Linked DNA regions of Homo sapiens: all the other regions are linked to region 2. The links are contacts of gene promoters, found by promoter capture Hi-C in blood cells and fetal thymus (Javierre and others, 2016). All regions are on one chromosome and are shown on one strand. The core of a region is centred on a gene start or on the middle of the fragment in contact, and the rest is flanking DNA. Distances in the headings are between cores, read along the strand shown. Region 1 overlaps RAB3C (RAB3C, member RAS oncogene family). Region 2 holds the start of GAPT (GRB2 binding adaptor protein, transmembrane). Region 3 has its middle 170 kb from the start of PDE4D-AS1. Region 4 overlaps RAB3C (RAB3C, member RAS oncogene family).

Region 1 (3,268 bases), core at 669-3,168, 280 kb before region 2:
CAGTTTTATATGACTCACAGACAGGTTCTATTTGGTCTATAGGTATTTTAAAAAAAAATTTAGTTATCAATTTTTACAAATGGAGAAACTTCACTAAAACTTCAGATTTCAGGATTCTTTTGAAAAATTCCAAAGCCTGGCTACCCTGAGCCACTTTTTCACCTGGTACGTATCATGTGTAAGTGAGAAGCATTTACCACCTTAGAGGGGTCATCCCATTTCCATCCACCTTCACTCACGCCCATTACCTGTCAGCCTTTGTCAGATTTCAGTCTGCAAACCCTGCTTGAAGGAAATTAGAAAGGGAAATTCAAGTCTCTGTGGCTGTCATGATTTCATTAAACCTGCCAGGTGGGATCTTCTTACGTGGTGTTACTTTTATAGGTCAAGACACAGTTGGGCTTGCTTTGGCCCTGAGGTTTTATAAAGGAGCCTCAGATACTGAAGAGAAGCCCCTGGGTTTGACATTTGGTACTTAGGTCATTTGTGATCTCAGCCAAGAGTATTTTCAGAAGAGCACTGGGGGCATGAACCAGATGGGACTAGATGAGGACAGAAAGTATGGAGGCGATGAGTGAAACAGTCCTTTTGACAAATGTGGTGGCAAATGAGGATGCAATCGTGCACAGCACTTCTCTCTCAGATGATTGCAATCACTTCCTAACCAGGGTTCCCACTTCTTCCTCCACCCCACTCTACTCAATTCATAACACAGAAGCTGGAGGGATCCTCTTAAATATATTGGACCATGCCACTCCTCTACTCAAAACCTTCCCACCAGCTTCCCATTTTCCCCAGAGCAAAAGCCAAAGTCCTTAGTCACGATGCTTCACAAGGCCCTCAAGATCTGGTCCCCTGACCTGTATCCTACTAAAGTTCCACCTCTCGCTCAGCTCCTGCCACACAGTCTCCTTTGCTTCTTGATTTGTGCTAAGGACACTCTGCCCTGACACAGGACGTTCACATGGCTGTTTCCTCTGCTTTGAATGCAGAGTCTTCACTTGGCTTCTTTACCTCCTTCATATCATGGCTTGAATGTCACCTATATCTAGCTGCTTTATTTAAAGTAGCATCCCTACTCCCTCTCCCTCCCTAGTAGACTCTGCCCCCATTCCCTGTTTGTATTTTTTCTAAGAAATTTATAAACATCTATTTTAAATTCATTTATTTGTATCCCTCATTACCTTATTATCTGCATCCACCCACCTCCATTAAAGGGCAGATGTTCTATATGTTTTTCCCCACTAATATCTCTGTAGTGCTAGAAACAGTGCCTGGCACATAAAAGTTGCTCAGGACATACTAGTTGTAGGAGACAGAGACAGAGACTTAAGCATGTTTGTGGGCTAAAAGGTAGAAGATGGAAAGAGAGGTACAGAAGAAAGGGTATATAAATGATCCCAGAGGAGAGGGGAGCAGATATTAATAGAATCAAGAGCTTAGGTGGAAGCACTGGCCTTGGAAAGGCAGAGAATTCTCCCTCCCTCCCAGGTATGTGTACAGGAAGCAAGGATAGATCTGATACCAGGTAAGAGAGAAAGAGAAACTGGTGCTTACCAGTTACATTCATGAGTGAATTAATTTATTCATTCATTGATCCATTTCAACATACTATGTCTCAGGTGCTACACTAGGGAGTAGGGGTACAGAGTTGATGCCCTCTATTTTCTCAGTGATGTCAGAGCAAGGCCAGTAGCTGAGAATGCAAAGGGAGGAGAGCTCCAGGAAGCATGTGAAGAGTGTAGAGTTTGGAACAGCTGCTCTGGGCACTGTTAATGGAAGGTAGTTAGGACACGTGAAAAGACTGCTGAGCAGCATGGAGAGCCCAGCTGAGGTTGTCCTGGTGCCAGCTGGCAGAGGTATCCGATTTTCTCCAGCAGCATTTGCAACTTGGGAGCAGAAGCAGAAAAAAAGCAGATGGTTGGAATAAATTGGTCCTGGGAATTGCTAGAAGAGGATGTTGTAGGGGGACTAGGGAGTGATGGGATCAACTGATCAGCCCCTAAACCTAATGGTTCACTGCGTCTTCATCTTGATGCTGTTCACTTGATTTTGAGGAATGCCACTGATTGACAGCTGTGCCTCCTTTCCCCCAGAGCTCTTGAATCAGTACCAGCCTCAATCAAGGTACCCAGTGTGAACTGCTGCACAAACTCTGAATAACCAAAATGTTGGTATTTACTCATTAGAGCTCTTCTGACTCCTCACAAATTATTCAAGGGGAGTAGCCACCTACTTTCCACACAAACACACCTTGAAAGCTGACTCTTTGCTATCCGTTAGACATTTCTGGCCCACTCCTTGGTGAATTCTTACTTATTTTCCTTCTGAAACAGGTAGTTGCAGTCCTATGATGGGGAGTGACTTGAATGCTATTCCAAGTTCATTTAGGACAGTCCCTTATTTGGGTTCTCAGAAACATGCTTTTACTAATAGGGGTTCTTCCTTGCACCTCTTTCTGTGTATGAGTCTCTGCTGCCTTAACAATGAATACTAAGTAGGAGCAGTATGTACTCCATTCTAAGCCACATCTATAGTGGTTAGTCCCCTGGCCCTAGGCTTATAACTTGCCTTTATCTCTTCATGTGACTGGTTTACAAAATGCCACTAAGCTGAGCTAGGTTGGCTTATCCCACTGTTGGCCTAGCCCTCTTAGGACTTTATCTGAAATCTTTATGACTACTTTCCCAGATACATAGTGTGTGTCTATTGCTCTCCTGGGAGAATCTATGTAGGCTTCTAGGTCAGGTTGGTCAGACGATGCATGAAAAGCATAAAATGCCTGCTTCTTTTGGGTTGTTCTTCCTTCCTACCTAAAACCTGACACTTTCACCCTTGGCTTCATGGTCCTGTGAATGCAACATGATTTTTCTTTGTTACTGAAAAAGATTTTACTTCTCCACTCTTATGATTCTCTATACAATAGACCTATAATTTCCTTACCTGATATATAATCTTTAAGCAATTTAAGATTTTTGGCATATGAATGCTGAAAATTAGAAGAATGCAAAGATTTAGATTATTATGCTGAAATGCAGTCATCTGGAATAGTTAGAAATTTAGAATTCAAGGAAATAAGTTGAAGTGTGCTTTCATGGGATGCCCAGAAATAAGATAAAAATCAAAAGACAAGCACGATGAGCCTTCTCTCTCGTCTTCTTTGTTCTCATGACAATGAAAAGATTTATTCAACCTTGGAGAACATTCTCCAGGGACTTGGCTAAGGCTGTCCACCTCTGTCCATAGTGGTCTGAGAGAGCTGCTGCAT
Region 2 (3,480 bases), core at 50-2,549:
AAGTTTAATGGTAATGAACGTTCATAAATTTGTCCAAGGTTAGAATATATTAATATGCAAATATTTAATTTGACATTTCATAAAAGAAAATTAAATAAGATGTGCAGCTAATTTATACAATTTTTTGATAAAAATACAGGGACAAGCACCCCAGATGCAGAAACATTTTAATCTCCTTGGAATTTTTGGGAGTAATATTGAGGTTGAGAACTGTATGGTCCGCCACATAAGATTTACAATCTGCAGGGTCCCTCCTTTATAAGGCCAGCCGTGCTTGTGTTCAAGGACAAAAGTTTAGCCAAATGACTTTAATCATTAGGACCTCATTTCCTGTCTGAAACAGATGAGCACCAATTATCTGCAAGATATTTTATGGTATACATGGTTAATGATTTAAGAAGTTATTTGCCAGAATATTTGAAATAAATTTACAAAATACACTTTAAGTATTGATTGAAATTAATCAACTTTTTGAAAGATACTAGGCCTGCAACAGAAGTCACGGTGAGGGTTGAGGAAGGCTAACTATTGTCACTTCTGTAGCTGAGGATAAGGCAATAAATTACTCTCTTAATTTTTAAGAAGAAAAGGCATTTTTACCATCTATGTTATTCTATGTAGAGTAGAAATTCTGGTACATCCAAAATATTAAAATTGTTTGTCTAAGAGATATTTACCAAGATAAAGACAAGAAGACTTTTTACAGAAAAAGAAATGCATCATTTTCTTCGAAATAACATTAGAGGAAAAAACCTGTGAGACATGAACAAAGACCTACTATAATGAAAAACATATTTTAAACAATAACCATTCAAATATAGTTTAACACTTAAATAATGTTCACTTTGACCAGTTTGAAAGAAGACTCTGTTTTCATTTTGGAAAGCAGTTCCAACAGGTTACCTAACAATTTGACATTTTTCTTAAAATCGCAAATTGTTGAGAAACTTCAGGAATTTTCAAGTAAGAGAATGCCCTGCTGTTTGGAAACAAGGTAACAGCAAAGCATAATCATATTGTAAAGAAACATTAACATCACTCTCAGTTTGTAAATTGGGTTTCCCCCTTACAGCTACGTAAGGCATTTTTTTCTAAAAACTGTAGTAAGATAAAAATCATTGATTAATTAAAGACAAACTTGTTTCTTATAGTGTTTAATCATCCAAATACCTTAAATCAGGTTCTTACTTACCTCAAGATTGGTGTGTCAAGCTCTCTCTTTTGTTCTTTTGGTTATGTTTTAAACCTGCATTGGGTTAGAACTTGTTCCTCTTTTTCACTTTGGTGGGTTACTTCCTTCTTTCCCTCCTTCGTTCACGCTATTTAATACTTGCAAAGTTTCCTGGCTCTAGAGGAAGTCAGTATCAGATGCAGCAGAATTAAGATAAATGGCGTGAGGTTTTGAATAAGGAAGTCTGGCCCTTCATCTTTGTCAAGTAATAGTTTTTTAACTGTGTCAGAAAATAATACGTAAAGCCTACATGGTTTTTTATTTGGGCCATATTTGCAGTTCCCACTTTAATATCAATAAAAGTCACTTCACTTGTACTTTGATTTTTTAAAAAAAGAAATATTTTAATTGTAGTAACACATAGGTCTTGGGCTTTTATTATTATTATTATTATTTACTTGTGTTGCTAGACCAGTCCTCTCTTCAAATATTAATATTATGTACCAATGCTCCCAAGTTATAGCCATACAGGTCAAATCAGTGTCCCAATTTGGGTTTGGAAAATGTTAACGTTCTTTTAAATTTATAAATAGGAATTTCCTAAGGTATGTTTTGAGGCCCATTACCCCTGAGATATGCTAGCAGCTCTTCCATCAAGTAAATGTGGGGAATACTGCTTCCCTGGAGATTCATGGGTACATCAGCATGCTAAAGGCTCTCAGCAGTCTTACAGCCAGCAAACAAAATAAAACCAAATAAGAAAAAGAAATTGTTTAACTTTGCTTAATAATAGTAGTCAGTATGTTCCTAGCACTAAGTACTCCAAACCTTTTGTGTAATACTCAGCAAATCTTGGCAACAACCCTGTGAGGGAGAAAAACTGTTATTAGTCCTATTTTACAGAAGAGGAAACAGAAGCACACAGAATGATCACTTGCCCGACAGAGCCTGCAGTTTGCCCCCAGCACCTGTGTGCTAAACCACTGCACTGGCTGCCTTGCTAGATTGAGTAACATGTTTCCCACATAGATACGCTTACCAAGAGCATCTCTTGGAGTCCAACTCATGGGAACACACACAGTGGGAGATGCTGAATTAGACAAATTACAGATGAATTCGACAGATGAGATGACAAAGTAATGGAAAATTTGTCTTTTAAGTTGTCTTGGAACTTTTTGAACCACAGAGGATTAACTTTGCATAAGGTGGTTTTAAAAAAGAGGATTTAGTTACTGAAATAACTACTGGACATTGGAAGGACAGGACGTATTATTAACACTTGCTGAGCACTGACATTATGCCAGGCATTGTGCTAAGAGATGAGGATGCAAGAGTGAATAAGCTCCCTGCAGCACTTAAAGCCAAGTAGAGAGGCTGCTGCGCCCACAGAACATTTCAGATCAAAGTGATAATGCCTAAGAAAGACAGGATTATGGACAGGGACAGTGGAGGTAAAGGAAAGAGGCATCCAGCTCAGAGGGTGGTCAGGGAAGGCAAGACCTGAGCTAAGCCTCATAGAATAAGGTGTTAAGGCAGAATAGGGGTGTCCTGGACAAAAATCTTACAGTGAAGGAGGTTATGAAGTTGTGAAGCTATGAACTTGATGTGCTCCACATTCTCACCACTATATTTAACTTCAGTATTAGCCACCCCTCCAAATAATATACACACTCACCTGCCTAGGCATACATCTGTAAGAAAGGCAATTTATACAATGTTTGTATAAAATTATGATTTTCTCTAGAAGGCAGGACAACTGGTGCTCATTCAGCTTTTGCCCTTTGAAGTTAAAAAAGTTGCTTAACCCCTTATTACTTTAGTTTTTCTAACGGAAAATAAAATGGAGGGAAAATGACTGGCACTTTCCTCAAATAGAATTTTTTTGATGTAATGGATATAATTATTCTTCAAGTTTATAAAAGAAATGCTGTATATATTCAAAATAGAATTATTGGATCATTGTCATTTGTAGGGATTATGTTTTATGTCTTGAATTCTATATTTTCCTACTTCCCAATCTTTGGCCTCGCAAAATACATATTTATTGTCTCCTTTCAGTTCCTTTTTAATCACAGCAATTATGTCTAGGTTTTCTTTTCCTGCTTTTTCTTCTACAGTTATACGGTTTGGGTAGTAAAGGGCTTAGGAAGTAGTTTATTGTTCTGTAGTGTAATATGGACTGGATCTTTCATCTAAGTAAATCTTCCTCTCCTATTAATTGGTGATAGCAACCACTTTACTTAATTGTGATTTAAGTTCCCAGCAATTTCTTGTGTGTCAGTTAGTATCCATTTCTTTTAACCCATGCC
Region 3 (3,277 bases), core at 23-2,522, 370 kb before region 2:
TCAGAGAGTCACTGGGTGCATTCATTATCTATTGCAGCATAATGAATTATTCCAGATTATAACCGCTGAATATAATAAAACAAAACACATTATCTCACAGATTCTGTAGATTGAGAATCCAGGAGTAGGTTAGCTGGGTATTTCAGGCTCAGAGTCTCTTATAAGAATGTAATTAAGTTGTTGGCTGGACCAGCAGATTTCTCAAGGTTCAACTTAGGATAGATCTGCTTCCAAATTCATTCATTGGCTGTTACCAGGCTTAAGAAGATCTGCTTCCAAACTGAATCCCATGGCTTTCTCCACTGTGTGTCTGCCTCAATACATAGCAGCTGGCTTCCCCAGAATGAGAAGTCAAGAAAGAATGAGAATGTCCAAAAGTGGAAGCTGCAGTCTTTTATAACCGAATCTTGCAAAGGACATCTCATAGTCTCTGCTGCATTCTATTTGCTAAATCCATTCCACAACGAAGGGGAGGGAATTGTGTAAAGGTGTGTGGTAGGCATAATAATGGCACATATTAAAGATGTTCTTTAATCCCTGGAACCTGTGGATATGTCCCATTACATGGCAAAAGGGATTTTGCAATTGTGATTAAGACTATGGATCTGAAACTATGGTGATTGTTCTGGATTATCCAGGTGGGTCCAGTGTAATCATACGAGCCTTTAAAAGCAGAAGAGGAAGTAGGAAGAGGAAAGCAGAATGGATGCAGCAGAAGAGGGAGTCAGCGAGGTTCCAAGGTTGTAAGTTATTTGACATACTGTTGCTGGTGCTGGGATATAACGGTGATGACTGGAGGGAGGCCTCTTGGAGCTCATCAAAAGCATGAGAAGGTGCATAGACAAGACTCCAGGAGCAAAGACTGTCCTTGGGTGACAGCCTGCAAGGAACTAGGGACCTCATTCCTACAATCATAAGGAGCTGAATTTGTCCATCATTTTTTTTCCATGGTATCAGTTGTATTGTCTCCTCTTTCATTTCTGATTTTATTTATTTGAGGCCTCTCTCTTTTTTTTTTCAGTCAAGCTAATGATTTGTCAATTTTATTTTTTAAAAAACAACTATTATTTCGTTCATATTTTCTGTTGTTTTTATTTCTATTTCATTTATTTCTGTTCTGATCTTTATTATTTCATTCCTTCTACTAATTGTGGGCTTTTTTTCTTCTTTTTTTCTTCTTCTTCTAGTTCTTTGAGGTATAACATTAGGTTGTTTGGAATCTTCTTGTTTGATGTAGGCAATTATTACCATCAACTTTTCTCTCAGAACTGCTTTTACTGCATCCCATGAGTTTTAGTATCATGTTTTTCCATTTTTGTTTTTCTTAAGATATTTTTAAGTTTCTCTTTCATTTCTTCTTTGAACAATTAGTTGTTCAGGAACATGTTTAATTTCCACAAATTCATGAAGTTTCCATTATTTCTTTTATTGCTTTCTAATTCATACCACTGTGGTTGGAAAAGATACTTGATATGATTTTAATTTTCTTAAAATTTTTAACACTTGTTTTATCGCCCAAAATATGATCCATTCTGGGGAATCTTTCCTGTGTGCTTAAAAAGAATGTGTATTCTACTGCTATTGGATGAGATGTTCTATATATGTCTGTTAGGTCCATTTCATCTAAAGTATAGTTTAAGTCCAGTATTTCCTTATTGACTTACTGTCTGGATAATCTGTCCACTGTTGAAAATAGGGTGTTGAAGTCCTTTACTATTATTGTATTGCAACATATTTCTCTCTTGAAATTTATTAATATTTGTTTTACATATTTAGATGCTCTGATATTGAGTGCATATCTAGTTACAATTGTTACATCATCTTGATTGATTGCTCTTCTCATCATTATATAATGACTTTATCTTGTTTTAGTTTTTGATATAATGTCTATTCTATCTGATGTAAGTAAAGCTACCTCCACTTTATTTCGATTTCCGTTTGCAGGGAATTTTTTTTTTTGTATCATGTCAGTTTCAATCTATTTGCATCTTTAAAGGTGACGCAAGTCTCTTATGCGTAGCATATAATTGTGTCTCGTGGTTTTTTGTTTTTGTTTTTATTTTTATTTTTTTGAGACAGAGTCTTGCTCTTTCGCCAGGCTGGAATGCAGTGGTGTGATCTCAGCTCACTGCAACCTCTGCCTCCTGGGTTCAAGCGATTCTCCTGCCTCAGCCTCCTGAGTAGCTGGGACTACAGGCATGTGCCACCATGCCCAGCTAATTTTTGTGTTTTTAATGGAGATGGGGTTTCACCATGTTGGCCAGGATGGTCTCAATCTTCTGACCTTGTGTTCCGTCTGCATCAGCCTCCCAAAGTGGTGGGATTACAGGCATGAGCCATGATGCCCTGCCTGTCTTGTGTTTTTATTTAGCCAGTTACTCTATAAACTGTACTTGGTTCTAATGATGAGATCATGGGTTGAATTTAGGGTGTTCTTAATACTGAATAATTTACATTTTAAATCCAAGGATAGGTTGTTTCTGGCTAAAACCATTATATTTATGAGTCTGGCCTAGAGATCAAATGGAGAAAACAAATAATAAATCCCAAAGAATTGTTATTATATTCTTCTATGGCACACTGCCCTCAGAAGAATCTTTTGTCTTTTCTACTGACAATACAAAAAAACTAAACAAAACAAAACAGCAACAACAAAAACAACCTTCTAGACCCTTACTGTTTAAGAGCAGACACATAAAAAAAAACATTAAAATATCTTTTACAGAGTTGTAATAATGTTAGGAGAGTGACTGTTAAGGAAAGTGCCAGCAAATGTATAGTATGCCTTAAGAGTAATTGTATTTTAAACTAGAACAAGAGAAGAAGAGAGATTTTGTGAGTGTCTTCTTCAGGTTGCATTCGGTTTTTGATAATATGCAAACAAAATCTTCAGAGTATTTTTGTGAAAACCCTAACGTATTGCTCTAGGATTTGAATTCATGGCACCCAAGAATCTAATAATTTCTAAGACCCCCTTCTAAGAAACCAACTTTTCACTTCTTGCTTATACTCTCAAATCTCTTATCAGTAAAAAATACTCTCTCCCTCCCCTCCCAGCTTCCATTGCAAAGCTTGACTTCCCTCTTAGCTCAAGTGTCAACAGACCGTCTTTTATGAAAGCCGTCTTTTTTCTTGCTAAGCCTGTGGTTATATGTCAGTTTCCAGAATTTTCATTACCAACATAACTCCTCCCTCCAAAGTTCTATTTTTAAGTGTCCTTTTAATTTTGGCTTGTTCTCCATTAGATGACCCTGTCTTTTGACTTTTCTGTTCTATG
Region 4 (3,137 bases), core at 230-2,729, 300 kb before region 2:
TGGGTAATTTATAAAGGAAAGAGGTTTAATTGACTAACAGTTCCACATGGCTGGGGAGGCCCCACAATCATGGCAAAAGGCAAAGGAGGAGCAAAATCACATCTTACATGGTGACAGGCAAAGAGAGCATGTGTAGGGGAACTCCCCTTTACAAAACCATCAGATCTCAGGAGACTTACTCACTATCCTGAGAATAGCATGGGAAAAACCCGCCCCCATGGTTCAAATACCTCCCACCGGGTGTCTCCCACAACACATGGGAGTTATGGGAACTACGATTCAAGATGAGATTAGGGCGGGGACACAGCCAAACCATATCAATAATCTTTTTCTAAATGAACTATCTGCATCAGGTTCACCTGGTGCTTGTTAGCAATGCAGATTCCTGGGCTCCACAGAACCTACTGAAGGGGAATCCCTAGGAGTAATCAGCATTTTAAATAAGTTCCCAGTGGTGATACATCCATACATCAAAATACAAGAAATACATTAGCTGAATCATTTGAGAAAGTAACTGAACTCCTCTGCGCCTCACTTTCTCCATCTGTAAAATGGGGGGAAAACCACTTTCATAGAGACGTTACGAGAATTAAAGCATCATTTAGTCCTTTGTCTATAATACTTAACACTTAATAAATGTTTTTTTAATAAATAATTAAAAACAGTGATTCTTACATGATGAAACTGAATAGATTGGTGAATATTCACACCGACTGGCATTTGAGGTTTAGTAAAGACACAGACAACAGAAGAATGTTTTTTTTTTTTAAAGCATAACTGGTTAGACAATCTGGACCACAACGAGCTTGGTCATGCCTGCTTCGGGGGGAAACTGGAAGTGTTATATATTGCTATTTTTTGTTTCATACAATCTTGCAGCCAGAAAAATCAGTAAGTTATCATGGTTCCCACAAGCTTCTGTGTTTTGTTTTGTGTCATGCCAGCTTTTTTTCTACTTTTCTTCCTCTGTTTTCTTTTAAATTGTAAATTCTGTCTGAAGAACCACAAAAAAAAAAGGAAAGAAAAGAAAAAGAAAAAAATGGGGGGCATTATTTAAGTAGAGAAAACAGTTTTATACACTTCTAAGGGAGAATCTAGTAATATATGAGGGTGTAAAAAGCACTGTGAATTTTCATTGCATTTGCTGGTATAACTTTAGTGACCTGCTGTAAGAATAGAAGGCCTTCCATTTTAATATACACCCTGCTGAGAAACTTGCTGCTGATTTATGACCTCTCAAACCGGAGGCTTCACATTCTGCATTTATACTTGGGAGAAATCATGGTTTCAGGAAAGGAGAAAGAGGATTTTATTCTCCTAACAATTAAATTCCAATTCTATATTAAGGTGATCTCCAAGATAAAATAAGAAGATAGACAATAAACTCACACAATAGAAATGTATAATCAGGACCATAGATATTTAATTGAAGTGGAATATTACAAGCATAGAGCTAGAAAAATGCAAATTCATCACCAATGATTCCTCCACCTAGATGACCATCAGAAATACACAGATGCTTTTAAAATGTAGATTCTTGGTCCTCATCCCAGACTTAGTGAGTCTCTCCAGAGATAAGGTTCAGAAATCAGACTTTTAAAAGCTCCCCACACTGGGACTACAAACTATATGTATGTGTGCATGTGTATATGTGTGTGTACATTTACTTATTCTGTACTCTGCCAAAGCAAAAAAAAAAAAAGTGGCAAAATGAAGTCTGTAACACTTAGGAATTTTTTTTTTTTTTTTTTTGAGGTGGAGTGCAGCGGCACGATCTTGGCTCACTGCAACCTCCGCCTCCTGGATTCAAGCGATTCTCCTGCCTCAGCCTCCTGAGTAGCTGGGACTACAGGCGTGTGCCACCACGCCCAGCTAATTTTTGTATTTTTAGTAGAGACAGGGTTTCACCATGTTGGCCAGGATAGTCTCGATCTCTTGACCTCGTGATCTGCCTGCCTCGGCCCCCCAAAGTGCTGGGATTACAGGCACGAGCCACCGCGCCCGGCCAGGAATTCTTAAAGTAGGAAACATAAGAGAAGCTTTTCCTCTGAGGGAATTCTGAAGAAATTTCTCTTTTGGTATTGTATCCACAGGCTGTACAGTTCAGCAAAGCCCTTAGGGCCCACTGAGAGGTTTGAGGCTGTGTGTCCCTTCTCTGCAGAGTGAACCAAATATTTTTCTGTTTGGGCTGCTGACTCCCCTCCATTTGTGACAGGGTTCTCCCTCAGGTACAAGCAATAAGAATGTGCATTGGACATACAGAATTTTAGAACAATAATATAACACTCTAAATATTTTTCTATTATTGCCATGTGCTAGCAAACATGAGAATCAAAACAATGTCAATGATAAAATACTCCTGCCCTCAAAAAATCTTTTCTTAGTGTAAATTCTAACAATTACTAACAATTAATTACATATATAATGATTATATATATATAAATCTTTTATTAAACTTTGTGTGTGTGTATATATACACAAGGTTTTATATATACACATACACACACACACACAAAGTTCAGTAAAAGAAGATTTTTACTGTGTTTGTTTCAGGCTATTATTATTCATTCCACATCACAATTATTAACGAAAATAGCTTGGCCATCTATAGGAAGGGTTGTTGGGAAACATTCTGCTCTGGAGTCGAATCTAGTAGGTATACTATCACTCCCCTTCATCTCCCCCCTCCCTCACCAAAATCAATGTTTCCATGTGTGGTTCACAGCTTCCGCCTCTGGCTCTAATTTCCACTGCACTGTACTAGTCCCTTGCATTTGCATCTGTTGCTCTCCTCTCTTTTGTTTCCACTTTCCCCTTTCCTTTGTAAAATTTCTTGCTTTTTTCCGTGCACTTGGTTCCTTCTTCAGATGGTTGGTTTGGACCATTTCTGCTAGCCTATGAGTAATCCCCATTACTGCATGAGGAAAAGGTTTTGCCCCCATAGCCATAGGGCTGTTATTGTTAGGTGCCTGGAAGCTGCTCCCTTCACCTTTTCCTTAATTCCTGGAAGTATTCCAGATATAGAAGCCACCAGGTTTATATATTTCCAAAGTAAACACTAACACAATTTTACCCATAATGCTAAATTATTATAATAAGCTCTGGTGGTGAATTTAATGAAGATAAAATGGAGATGG

The links. Contacts are between HindIII fragments. The CHiCAGO score rates a contact against its expected background, and 5 or more counts as called.
Region 1: a contact is called between a fragment that was not itself captured here and the fragment with the promoter of GAPT in region 2, in 6 of 17 cell types (M1 macrophages, M2 macrophages, monocytes and 3 more). The highest score is 7.9, in M1 macrophages.
Region 3: a fragment that was not itself captured here is called in contact with the fragment with the promoter of GAPT in region 2 in 9 of 17 cell types (M2 macrophages, M1 macrophages, M0 macrophages and 6 more); the score reaches 10.3 in M2 macrophages.
Region 4: a contact is called between a fragment that was not itself captured here and the fragment with the promoter of GAPT in region 2, in 1 of 17 cell types (M2 macrophages). The highest score is 7.0, in M2 macrophages.

The regions. Positions count from the first base shown.
Region 1 is chr5:58,772,486-58,775,753 of GRCh38, reverse strand. The region is part of intron 3 of RAB3C (RAB3C, member RAS oncogene family); the gene reads right to left. Among named protein-coding and RNA genes, the nearest start is that of RAB3C, 190 kb to the right of the region's middle. The HindIII fragment of the contact is 4,726 bases long and covers 1-3,268 here.
Region 2 is chr5:58,489,254-58,492,733 of GRCh38, reverse strand. GAPT (GRB2 binding adaptor protein, transmembrane) reads right to left here and starts at 1,299. Exons shown (of 3, transcript NM_001304431.2): 1 at 1,193-1,299. The HindIII fragment of the contact is 6,945 bases long and covers 1-3,480 here.
Region 3 is chr5:58,863,491-58,866,767 of GRCh38, reverse strand. No RefSeq gene overlaps it. Among named protein-coding and RNA genes, the nearest start is that of PDE4D-AS1, 170 kb to the left of the region's middle. The HindIII fragment of the contact is 3,602 bases long and covers 1-3,073 here.
Region 4 is chr5:58,792,147-58,795,283 of GRCh38, reverse strand. All of the region lies in intron 3 of RAB3C (RAB3C, member RAS oncogene family), which reads right to left. Among named protein-coding and RNA genes, the nearest start is that of RAB3C, 210 kb to the right of the region's middle. The HindIII fragment of the contact is 1,124 bases long and covers 918-2,041 here.